2 separate regions of the Homo sapiens genome follow, and region 2 is linked to region 1. Evidence: promoter capture Hi-C in 16 types of primary human blood cells and fetal thymus (Javierre and others, 2016). All regions are on one chromosome and are shown on one strand. The core of a region is centred on a gene start or on the middle of the fragment in contact, and the rest is flanking DNA. Distances in the headings are between cores, read along the strand shown. Region 1 holds the start of CLTCL1 (clathrin heavy chain like 1). Region 2 holds the start of ESS2 (ess-2 spliceosome associated protein).

Region 1 (6,342 bases), core at 410-2,909:
GAGGTCCCGACGTATTAACAATCCTGTCACTTTGCTTAACTATGATTTTCTTAAATTCTTTCTTTTAGGGTATAAAATTTTAGTTTTAATCCCCAAAAAGCCCTGGGGAAGGTGATTTAGGGAGTGATGGTATTAATTACTAAAAAATTTATATAATGTTTGGGGTAAAGGGTACTTGGAGTCACAGGCATCATTGCCAAAATAAAGAGATTTGGGAAATGTAGTACTAACCACAGCAAAACCCAGCTCTATATTTAGCGGATGAGGCCACATGGATTTTAGAAAGGGCGGGCTGCAGAGGTCTTGGCTAATACTGGAAAAGAGATTTAATTTGAAAGTGAACAGTCTGTTCTATTCCTTAACATATTTTTGGCTACTAGATGGTCAAGCCATTGCGCAAATAATTGCACCATCCTTGTCTTATTCAAGGTGGGCCGTTCATTTCTTAAAATTACCAGTGAGCAACATGGGAAGCAGCAGAGACGGCTATCGATTACCCCGTAGGGAGTGCCTGTGCTGAATGCCAAGGGCTTCCCTTTCCTGACAGACATCTTTTATGCAGCTGAATCATCTGTATGCAAAACATCAGCCAACGGTGCCTCGGAAAAACAACTGGCTGCTGGGCAAACCAGGTGTGGGCTCCAGCTTCCACCTGCTACTACTGTCGTGCAGCCACGGGCACTCTGGGTGATCCTCACTGGCCTGGGGCTGGTCATCTGCTGCTAGATGACCTTCGCTGACTCTCTACATTGATATTCCGACACAGTGTTCTCTAGAAACCGCATGAGCCAGGAAAGGTGTTTCCTAAAGGAGCAGGGGCCGAGCCTCACGCCGAAACACGTCTGTAACACGTACAGTCACGCGTCCCATGCATCCATGCATTCTGAGACATGCGTCTCGGTTGTGGGATCATCACAAGGTAACTTACACAAACTCAGATGGCACAGCCACTACACAACTAGGCAGCTGATGCGGTCCGCTGCTGCTAGGCCGCAAACCCGCACCGCGTGTGAGGTGCGTTATTCCCCTGGCACGGTAATGACATACCTGTACGTGTATCTCCAAATACAGGAGAGGAAATGTCCTTAGCTAAGCCCTCACCAGAGGACAGGAAGTTTCCAGCTCCGTTATCATGTTATGGGACCACCGTCATATACACGGTCCTCCTCAGACCAAAAGGTCGTTCGTTATACGGCACATGTGGTTCTTCCAAGACCCTTTTCCATCTTTCTGTCACATCCGTGCCTGAGTAAAAAGTGGCCCTGAACTCAACCGTCCAGAGTTGGCGGCAGAACTAGCACCACTGGCCCGCTCCACATGTGGAAGGCGCTGGGCAAGGGCCGCCGCAGACCCCATCAGGATTAATCCCCCGAAAACCTTTCACTCGGGTAGCTGGCACACACCGCGTCAGGGCAGAGGGCGCGCGGGACTACTTTCCGCGGACCCTCGGAGCGGGCGGAGGGATCCGCGCAGGCGGGACGGGGCAGAGGCGGGGGCAGGGGCGGGGGCAGGGGCGGGGGCAGGGGCGGGGCAGAGGCGGGGCAGGGGCGGGGCAGGGGCGGGGGAAGGGGCGGGGAAAGGGGGTGCGGGCCGGGGCGCGGTCAGGGAGGAGGGCGGGGGCCAGGACCGGGAGCTCGGGGCACTGCGCCTGCGCCGTCGCCACCGGTCAGCCCGCGCGAGGGGTCGGCGTTCATTCCTGCCGCTGCCGCCGCCGCCGCCGAGGTCCCGCACCAGCCATGGCGCAGATCCTCCCTGTTCGCTTTCAGGAGCACTTCCAGGTGAGGCCCGGCGGGCTGGGGGGCTGCCCTGTCAGCCGCGCCTCCGCCGGGCCGGACTGCCAGGCTTGACCCCGCGCCCCCAGCCCCGCTGAGCCGCTGCCCAGCTGGCCGCGCCGATTTCCGACCTCCCACCTGGGCTGGGGCTGCGGCGTCCCGGGCGCGGCGGCCGCTCCTGAGGACCCGCTTGGGTGCCGTCGCCGAAGCCCGTTACCGGCGGGGCCGGCTGGGGAATGGTGGGGGTGGAAGCCAACGCCCCCTGGGACGCCCCGCTCAGTGCCCGCGAGGAGGCACACAAATTCCCGCTGCAGGCAGGGCAACCCAAGGGCCGCGCGGATCCCACAGCTCCACGCCCCTCCTTGGCGTCCTGCGGTCCTTATTCGCCCCTGAGTTTGCCTCTGTGATCGGTTTTCGTCCCCAGGGCGGCTTCGCCTGGGAGGACCGTGAACATGCGTGACCCAAGAGAAAAATTTCTCAGGGCCAAGCCTAAATAGGGCTTTTCAATGCAGTAACACCCCCAAAGCCTGCCTTTTTAATAAGGTCCCAGTTTGTTCTCCATTTGTTTGTGTTCAGAAACATAAGGACTGGCCCCCTGCTTTGAGCAAAGGCTCAGGTCGGGCGTCGTGCGGGCCGCTCGCGGGTCTGCCCGGGAGCGGTGCTGGTCCCCACGTTTACCCTGGGAGGTGCGGCAGAGGAGGGATAGCCAGCGGCTCCTCCCTGAGTGCTCTGTGTTAAATCATCACACTACCATTCGTTGCGATTCGCTTACTCTTTTCTAGATGAGGAAACCGAGTCTCAAAAGTGTTAAAGAACTCATCTTCATTCAATAAGAACAGGATTCAGACTCAAGTCTTTTTGACCACAAAGTAGTACATCGAGGAACGTGCTTGCTTGAAAGTTCCTATTTTCACAGTGCAGAGCACTGTTAGCCCTAGATGCAGACGGGAAAAGCCTTGGGAACTGTGTAGTGCAGTCCAGTCCCCTCATTCTGCAGACTGGAAACTTGATATCCAGGGGATCCTGCCAGGGTCACTTGGTTAGTGACACAGTGGAAGTTGTATGGAGGTGGGAGTGCCCTGACATCTGTCCGGGCTTCATTCTGCCACTAAGCTAAGCCAGCACCAGTCATGTTGAGGTAGCAAAATACTGCTGCTGCTCATAATAATGATGATGATGTAGTTATCATTTACTGAGCCGTTTCTCTTGCCACTCACTAGACTACTGTATTTTATAAATCTGGTTTAATTTAATCCTCATGATAACTGAGGCAGATAGTGATATCCTGTTTTCTACCATGGGTCACTGAGGTTAATATTCTAATTCCTTCAGCAAAAGTTACATGGCTAGTAAGTGACAAAGCTTGAGTTCTAACCCAGGTCTGATTCCAATGCCTGTGCTTAACCACTATCTAAATATGTTCTTTTCAAAGGGCAAGAAAGCAACAAGATATTTTAGGTGTCCATCAGAGTTTCTAATGTCCATCAGGATTTGTAATGTCCATCAGAGTTGATATGTTCCATTATCTGGAAAATGCTTGTGGCTTGTGGTGGGCAGCCACGTGAATGCAAGTCTGGTTTGTGGTCTCTAACACTGACTGGGTCTTTGAGGCTGCTGTGCATTCTGTAGAGCAAACACTGAGTCAGCACACACTGCCTTCACTACAGACATTTCGAGACTTCAGCCTGTTCCTTAAATCCCTGATCCTGCCACTCCTGCCTTGCAACCAGCAGATGACTTGGAGAAAACTGAAGCCATAACTGGGATGTTTCTCACCTATATGGCTGCAGACTTAGATGTTTGTCTGCAGCCACCCTTTCCTGCCTTCCTGTTACCTCAAAAGTAGGTGTCCTTTCTTGTCTATGTTCTGGATCTGGTATCCTTCTTCCCTATAAGGGAGCCTCGTTCAGTCATAGCCTCCCTTTCCTGTATTTTCATCCTTCTGTCTTGTTGTTTCTTCCTGTTTGTGTTGGGCAATGCTCACCTCTCTTCCATCTGTACAACCAGCAAACTTCTTCCCCCGCTCTTGTCCCCACGAAGCTCTTGTCTCATAGCTGGATGTCATGAAAGAGCTGCTTTAGTGCTTCATTATTTTTATGTTCCACAGTAACCTGCAGTCTGGCTTTTGTCCCCATTTTTTCCCCTGAATCTGTTTTTGCCAAGGTTACAAGCCATCCTGCAGGCTTTTTTGTAAGGGCCACATTCTGTCTCTGTCCCATATTCTTACATTTTTTAACCTTCTAAAAATATGAAAAAGACTTTTAGTTTAGCCATACAAAAGCAGGCTGCAGTTGGCTAATCTTTGCTGTAAAAAATAAAATCAGGCCGAGCATGGTGGCTCACACCTGTAATCCCACCACTTTGGGAGGCCGAGGCGGGTGGATCACCTGAGATCAGGAGTTCGAGACCAGCCTGGCCAACATGGTGAAACCTCGTCTCTACTAAAAATACAGTATTAGCCGGGCGTGTTGGTACGCACCTGTAGTCCCAGCTAGTCAGGAGGCTGAGGCGGGAGAATCTCTTGAACCCGGGAGGCAGAGGTTGCAGTGAGCCAAAATCATGTCACTACTCTCCAGCCTGGGTAACAGACCGAGACTCCGTCTCAAAAAATAAGATGCGATGAGCTAGGTGAGATAAAGCCCATCACACCACACGCATCTTCTGTGATGTCCAGCCGCATTTGATGCTGCACTTTACTGCCTCCTGAGGGTCCTTTCTCTACTGTTTTTGGTTCCACAGTTTCCCAGGGTTTCTCCTTCCTCTCTGCCCACACCCACTGCCCCATGGGCGGCTCTTGTGCATGAGCTTGGAATCTGTCTTGAGCCCCTCTGCTTTTTCATTCAGGACATGCTGCTGGTGATGTTATGTATTCCCATAAGCTTGATGTTCCCAAGCCATCCGAGTGTTTTCGCAGTTTCACTGCTGTGTGTGTGTGAGGCAGTAGCAGGTCCTGGTTAAGAGCACAGACTGAGGCCAAACTGAAGGCACTGAATGTGGACTCAGGCACTTACTGGCTGTGTGATTTAGGGCAATGTTTGTAGCTTTTTTGTGCTTCTATATCTTCATCTATAAAATAAGGATAAAAGGTATACTTCTTATCTCACAAGGTAGTTGTGAGGTTTTTGAGTTAATAAATGTAAAGCATTAAACAATAACTGTTACATAATACAGTAGTCCCGATTTACCCATGGGGAATATGTTCTAAGACCCCCAGAGGATGCCTGAAACTGCAGATTGTTCTGAACCCTTTATACACTTTTTTTCCCTATGCATACATATGTATGATAAAGCTGAATTTATGTTAAGCACAGTAAGAGATTAACAATGATAACTAATAATAAAACAGAACAATAATAACAATATGCCAGCATCACTACTGTTGGACTTTGGGGCCATTATTAAGTAAATTAAGGGTTACTTGAACACAAACTCTGTGATGCTGCAACAGTCAACCTGGTAACTGACCGCTACTAAGTGACTAATGGGCTGGCAATGTCTACAGCGTGGATATGCTGGGCAGAGGAGGGATAATTCACGTCCTGGGTGGGCTGGTGCAAGATTTCATCACTCTGCAGAATGGTATGCAATTTAAAACTTATGAATTGTTTATTTCTGGGGTCTTACATTTAATATTTTCAGACTATAGGTAACAGTGTGAAAAAAACCACGGATAAGAAGGGACTACTGTAAAGCACTGTGTCCTTGTGAGCTGTTGCTGCCATTGTGACAGCTGCCTACTGAAGAAGGCCAGGAAATGGTCAGCAGGTTCCTCAAACACAGTGTTCATAAATGGGGTTCCCTTTCTCCCCAGATGTGTATCTTGTCCAGTGTCCAGCCAGGAGCCTGGGATGTGTTTTCCCCATCCTGTTGTCCCTTTCTCCTGTTTACTTTTGGCATCGTTCTGCCACTGTCATCATGACTACCGTTTCCCTAAACTATGCCATCCCTCCCCACCTTGATGGTCATGCTAGCTTTGTCCTTCTACTTCTAGTCTTGCCCTCCTGTGATCCATTCTCCAGCACACAGGCAACATGATCTCCAAGGATGAGCATCTGCTTAAAGTCCTTCAGGGAGTGGTTTCGTGTTTCCTCTGGCATGAAAAGACTGATCCCCACGTGCTCTTTCCTGTTCTTCCCAGCCCAACACCTGCTCAACTCTGCTGCCGCTCCCTTTGTGTCCTTGCCAAAACACATTCTCCTCTCACCCCTCTTTACTCACTGACTCCTACTGAGCCTTCTGGTATCTGTGGAAATGACGCTGTCTCTGGAAGCTCTCCCTGATTTGTCAGTTAGGAGTTCTTCCTCTGTGCCTCTTTGGGGTTCCTCTTATAATGACACTCTTCCCAGGGTACTGTAGCTGTTCATTTTCTCTGCTGGATTGTGAGCTCAGGGAGCTACCATTTGAACTTTTTAGAAATATTCAAATGTGAGAGTTGGAAGGGTATTGCTGTTTGTAATATCTGAGGATGGGCTGAGCACTTAAGACATCTTGATTCAGAAGAGGAATGGCTGAATAGTTTGGTGACATAAAAATTTTCTTGAGCCCTAAGTAATTCCCCCCAGCTATATCA
Region 2 (6,254 bases), core at 3,755-6,254, 150 kb after region 1:
GGGACGAGGAATTAGGCCCAGCCGAACGAGGGGGAGCCACCAGAGGCTGGGCCGGGAGGCACCGCCGCGCTCTGGGGAGCTGCCAGGGTCGGGGCGCCCTCCGAGCGGCTGCCAGGCCCCGCGGGCGGCGGCGAGGCGGCCCTCCGCCCCTTCCCCGCAGGTCGCCCTGCCAGCTTGAGCGGCGGGCGCGGGTGGGGCAGGAGGACGCGGGGCGGGGTGGGGGGCACAGGGGGCCCTCTCTGCAGCGCCCCCGGCCCCCGCGCGCGGAGGCAGGGCCGCCGCAGTCGAGGATTAGCGCGTTCGCGGCCGGCGCTGCGGGATTAACCCGCGTGGACTGGACGCCCGGCCCGGGGATTACTGCGCGCTCCCTCCCCGACGTATATATTCCCGCGGCGGCGGCGCCCCGGCCGGGCCGGGCATGGCGGCAGCGGCTGGGGGCGCGGCGAGCCGCCGGGGTGCCGGGCGGCCCTGCCCCTTCTCCATCGAGCACATCCTCTCCAGCCTGCCCGAGCGGAGCCTCCCGGCCCGGGCCGCCTGCCCACCGCAGCCCGCCGGTCGCCAGAGCCCCGCGAAGCCAGAGGAGCCCGGGGCGCCCGAGGCTGCGCCCTGCGCCTGCTGCTGCTGCTGCGGCCCCCGCGCGGCGCCCTGCGGGCCCCCAGAGGCGGCCGCCGGGCTGGGTGAGTGGGCGCGGAGCGGGGCGCGGGGCCCGGCGGAGCCCGGGGCGCGGCGCAGTGGGTGCCGAGCTTGGCCCCAGCCCCGCGCCTCACCGCGCCCTCGCTCCGCAGGCGCTCGTCTGGCGTGGCCGCTGAGGCTGGGACCGGCGGTGCCCTTGTCTCTGGGTGCGCCAGCCGGAGGTTCCGGGGCGCTCCCGGGCGCGGTCGGCCCGGGTTCGCAGCGGCGCACGAGGCGCCACCGCACCATCTTCAGCGAAGAGCAGCTGCAGGCGCTCGAGGCGCTTTTCGTGCAGAACCAGTATCCTGACGTGAGTACGCGCGAGCGCCTGGCCGGCCGCATCCGCCTTCGCGAGGAGCGCGTGGAGGTGAGTGCCCCGCCCAGCCTTTCCCCGGAGCGCGCGGGCCGCGGCTACACTGGACTGGGGTCCTGGCGGGCGGGCGCCCTTTGCAAAGACGGCCTCGGCCCAAGCCCCGCCCTGGCGCGCCGGAGGGAGGAGGTCCCTGGACGGCGCTGGGCGTCCGGGGGTATGAGGAGCGGGTGAGAGCAGGGAGGTGCCGCGGGAAAGGAACCGGAGGGCTACTTTTCTTTTCTTTTGTTTTACACTTTCCTCTGGTGACGAAAGAGGCCCGCGTTCACGTCCAGAATTTGGGAAATTCAGAAGAGCCCGCAACCCAAGAAGGGGCGTCCTGGTCGCCGCCAGCTGGAGGCTGGGGCGGGTACTAAGGGGGTTCCCATCTCGCGTCCAGACCCACCGAGTCTGTCCGCAGCGAATAAGGGCAGGTGGCGCGCAGCCGCGGCCCGGGTGTCGGCTCTACAGCGCCGTCCGCCCACATCCCTGTTGCGAAGCTCCCCTCTCGGTCCCTGTGGGACCCTCGGGAGCCGGTGGGACGCAGGACCTGGGGCTAGGGCTGAGCATTCCCCCCATCCCCAGGTCTGGTTCAAGAACCGCCGGGCCAAATGGCGACACCAGAAGCGCGCGTCGGCTTCCGCGAGGCTCCTGCCCGGCGTCAAGAAGTCCCCGAAGGGGAGCTGCTGATGACTCTAGGAGCTGCCCCTGGGCTCGGCCACCCTTTTTGGGATCTTTGGAGTTGGCGCTGAGAGAAGACAGGTCTACCCGAAAAGGAGCTGGGAGAGTACACCGGCCGCCTCCACCCGTCTCCACAGCCCTTGCCTCCTGCAGCTCGTGCTGCCGTGGCGCTGGGGACGGGCCCCCGGTGCTTGGTGTTCCACGGCAGTGGGAGTGGCGAGTCCCTTGGGGGTGGGCTGGGGCATAGAGCAGTTTCCTCAGCTCCCTACCCCCCGAGAGACACTAACTCCACCGCAGGAGGGGAACCACCCCGTATCAACACGGGACCCAGAATCCTACGCAGTGGAGCGTCTCTCCGCACCCTGGGACATGCTGGCCACCCTCTTCTCAATGTGGACATTGACCTAACTTGACCTGGCTCGTCCTCCCCCAGCGGGAGAGGGGATGGGGTTCGTGTCTGTGCAGTCCTGGCGTTGCAGGCTTCCCAGGCCCTGGGCTGGGTCTTGGTATCTGGACCTGTAGAATAAGAAGGTCGCAGGAGCGATTCCAGGAGCCCCTCCACAGTCCCTTCACCTTCGAGCCTCGCGCTGATACTGAGAAACTAGCAACTTCAAATACCACAGAAGCCGCCCAGAGTCTCAAGTCCACCTTGGCTCCACTCCCACACCCAACAAGGAGCTGTCCCTTCTTCTTCCTTCCCAGCGAGGGGGTATTTAGGGTACAGCTGTCTTTGAGAGGAGCACAGCTCAGCGATCCTCAGTCTCTGCACCAGGGTGCTCCCCAGCAGAGGGGACTGCTCCACGGATGGTGGCCTTGGACCCCTGGGGTCCAGCCCTGGCCTCTAGGCTACTGTGAACCTGCCCATGGGTGAGGGTCCCCTGCTTCCTCCTGGGGTTTTCATGCTGTGGGCTCGGACTCCCTCACAGCAATCTGTGCCATCCTAGGGTAGGGCAAGAGGAGGTTGGACTGGGGAGACCCCGCCCCTGCTGCCTGGGAAGATGCCTGCCCTCCCCTTCTTTATCCTGGCCCATGGCAAAAGGCACAGTGGAAAGAAGCCTTAGATTCCCCAAGTAGGCCCTACAGTGGGTCCAAAGCATCTCACATCCCCACCCCCAGCTGGCTTGAGCACCTCGTTCTGTCTCCTTACAGGCCCTGCAGGGAATGGGGCCATTCTACCTGCAAGAGATGAAGTCCATCTCTAAAAGCAGGACTGCAGAAGCCAGGGCTGCAGCTCCCCAGACACCCCAAGGCTGGCCAGCTTGGATAACACCAAGCAAGCATGGTGTCCCCAGTCAGAACTGCCCTGACACTGCTGGGTGTCCCTAGCATCCCCGCCTCCACCCCTAGCATGCACACAAAGCCCTTCTCCCTGAACCCTGGTCTTGCCCTTGGGGACTGAACAGACTACCTGTGGACATGCCCGTGTCCCAGTCAGCTCCCTTGCAGCTGGGGACACTCGCATCTCACAGGCTCCAGGCCCCTTGAGTTCCTTGGTTGAATGGCCATCTGTCATTGTTTTGGGAGCCCCGATCAGAGCTTGTGGAGCGCCACCTTCCAGGGCTCAGTGGCTGTGTTGCTCTCCTGAATTTGCTTCTTGAGCTCTAGCTGCTCCTTGGCAGGCTGACCCCCCACAGCAGGCTATTAACATAGGCATCCTTCACGCTCACACCCAGGCGCTCGCTTCTCATCTTCACCCTCTTCCCGGTTTATCTTTTACCCTCAGACTCCAATTCCCATCTTTCTGCCACATTTACATCTCAAGCCAGGCACTTCCCCTGAGCCAGGTATTTATCTCCAGCTGTCCCCTTGAAGCCCACAGACTCCTTAAGGTCACCTTGTCCACAGTGAGCTCTTCTGTGCAAACCAGGCACATGAGCCAGAGAGCTAGCCGCCCACCCGAAACTGGTCCCTGGACCCCTCCCTCTCCTGATCATCCACTATACCCAGGCTGACAGGAAGTCAGTTTTACTGTTTATCAATAAATCAATAAATCCCAGAATCTCTCCAGCTCTAACTGCACCAGTCTGATGTAAGCCACCGTCACCTCTCACCTTGACCACTGCAACTGTCTCTAATCTTGTCCACCTGCACCACACTGGCTCTGCTTTTTTGTTTGTCGGTTGGTTTGAGACAAGGTCTCGCTCCATCACCCAAGCTGGAGTGTAGTGGTGCAATCATGGCTCACTATAGCCTCCAGCTCCTGGGCTCAAGCGATCCTCCCCCATCAGCCTTCTGAGTAGCTAGGACCACAGGTGGGCACCACCACACCCGACTAACTTGAAAAGTTTTTTGTAGAGATGAGGTCTTGCCATGTTGGCCAGGCTGGTCTCAAACTTCTGACCTCAAACTATCCGCCGGCCTAGGCCTTCCAAAGTGCTGGGATTATAGGCATGAGCCACTGTGCCTGGCCTGCCCCTTCAATTCAGAATGAAGACAAACCACCTCACCATACCCTACAAGGCCCTGTGCAGCCTGGCCCTGCCTCTCTGGCATCATCTCACACCTCACTGCACTCTGCATTTCCAAAGGACTTCTTTAGAACTTGCCTTGCTCCCTCCCACCACTAGGCCTTTGCACATGCTCTTTCCACCTGACTGTTGCCGGTTTGTTCGTCTTTTGAATCTGCAATCACTTTCTGCCTGGGGAAGCTTCTCTGACCTCCCGAACTAGGTCAAGATTCCCCAAGTACAAACTCTTTTCTTGCACGGACACAGCTGCAATTTTACACCTGTTTGTGTGATGATCTAACAAGTGTCTCTGTCTTCCCCATTGCACTGTCACTTCTACAAGGGCAGCAGCAGCACGCTGCACTTCAGTGAATGAAGGTATCCCTGTATGTTGCAAAAGCAAAATTGTATTAAATTGTTCCAGGGCGGAATTTATTTGTCCAACACAATTCACATCTTTCGTTTGGGAAGAAATTCCTTAAAAATGCCGAGGCAATTTTCTGGTTCACTTGAATATTAATTTTTTTTTTTCTTGACAGAGTTTCACTCTGTCACCCAGGCTGTAGTGCAGTGGCACAATCTCTGCTCACTGCAGTTTCCACCTCCTGGGTTTGAGTGATTTTCCTGCCTCAGCCTCCCAAGTAGCTGGGACTACAGGCACCTACCACCACTTTGTATTTTTTTTTTTTTTTAGTAGAGTTGGGGTTTCACCATGTTGGCCAGGCTGGTCTCAATCTCCTGACTTCAAGTGATCCACCTGCCTGGGTCTCCCAAAGTGCTGAGGTTACAGGCGTGAGCCACCGTGCCTGGTCTTGAATGAGAATGATCCCTCTTCTGGGAAGCCCACTCTGGCATTTGGGGGCCCAATAATCTTTTTTTTTTTTTTGACAGAGTTTTGCTCTTGTTACCCAGGCTGGAGTGCAATGGTGCAATCTCAGCTCACTGCAACCTCCGCCTCCTGGGTTCAAGCAATTCTCCAGCCTCAGCCTTCCGAGTAGCTGGGATTACAGGCGTCCACCACCATGCCCAGCTAATTTTTTTGTGTGTTTTTAGTAGAGATGGGGTTTCATCTTGTTGGCCAGGCTGGTCTAGAACTCCTGACCTCAGGTGATCCGCCTGTCTTGGCCTCTCAAAGTTCTGGGATTACAGAATAATCTTTAGACATTTCTTAATCGAACCACTGTCTTGTTCTTTCACCTTTTGTTAGATAACTATAAAAAAAAAAAAAAGATTGTTTTGGCCGGGTGCGGTGGCTCACGCCTGTAATCCAGAGACCAGCCTGACCAACATAGAGAAACCCTGTCTCTACTAAAAATGCAAAATTAGCCGGGCGTGGTGGCCCATGCCTGTAATCCCAGCTACTCGGGAGGCTGAGGCAGGAGAATCCCTTGAACCCGGGAACTCCGGTGAGCCGAGATCATGCCATTGCACTCCAGCCTGGGCAACAAGACCGAAACTCCGTCTCAAAAAAAAAATTGTTTTAAGGCCCTTTTCTTGCATAAAGCTTGAAACTCCTATATAAGTAAATTTCCTGGTTTGTATTTTTGTAGAATAATCTCGAAGCATACATAGTTCTTATTTGTGGGAAATTAGAATTCTAAGGCCTTTGGACGCTGCAAAGCCAGAATTTCTCGCGTGAAGAACACGCCCTATAGCATCCTCCCCGCCACCTCCACAGCACCCCCTCGTGTTCACAGCATTGACAAGCATGAATAGCGCGGGGCAGGACAAGGACTACATTTCCAATAAAGTCTAGCATTTATAGTGACGTCAGAACGGAGCGCGGGCTGGCTTTCTAGAGCCACAGCTTTTCCATTGGCCAACTATTGGAGGCGCCTGCGCAAATGGTGCAGTCCCGCCCCCTCCACCCTGTGACGCGCCTGCTGGGCCCGAGCTTTTTCCTGGGATAGCGATGGAGACGCCGGGCGCATCAGCGTCGTCCTTGTTGCTTCCCGCCGCGTCCAGGCCCCCGAGGAAGCGCGAGGCGGGAGAGGCTGGGGCTGCGACGAGCAAGCAGCGGGTCCTGGACGAGGAAGAGTATATCGAGGTACGACCTCGGTGCGGACGCCGGCGACTTCTGGGCCCATCCTCTGCTTCAAGCTCCT

Evidence for each region. The method cuts DNA at HindIII sites, captures the fragments that hold promoters and counts their contacts. A CHiCAGO score of 5 or more calls a contact.
Region 2: a fragment that was not itself captured here is called in contact with the fragment with the promoter of CLTCL1 in region 1 in 1 of 17 cell types (naive CD8 T cells); the score reaches 5.4 in naive CD8 T cells.

The regions. Positions count from the first base shown.
Region 1 is chr22:19,287,036-19,293,377 of GRCh38, reverse strand. It overlaps CLTCL1 (clathrin heavy chain like 1), which reads left to right and starts at 1,659. Exons shown (of 33, transcript NM_007098.4): 1 at 1,659-1,778. The coding sequence starts at 1,737. It overlaps LOC105372859 (a long non-coding RNA gene), which reads right to left and starts at 1,431. Exons shown (of 6, transcript XR_938002.3): 1 at 1,048-1,431. RefSeq lists silencers at 1,541-1,780, 1,662-1,846 and an enhancer at 1,957-2,470. The HindIII fragment of the contact is 6,040 bases long and covers 1-3,136 here.
Region 2 is chr22:19,144,448-19,150,701 of GRCh38, reverse strand. ESS2 (ess-2 spliceosome associated protein) reads left to right here and starts at 6,051. Exons shown (of 10, transcript NM_022719.3): 1 at 6,051-6,196. The coding sequence starts at 6,062. It overlaps GSC2 (goosecoid homeobox 2), which reads left to right and starts at 410. Exons shown (of 3, transcript NM_005315.2): 1 at 410-677; 2 at 786-1,039; 3 at 1,607-3,709. The coding sequence starts at 419. The coding sequence ends at 1,711. RefSeq lists an enhancer at 959-1,458. The HindIII fragment of the contact is 1,303 bases long and covers 4,353-5,655 here.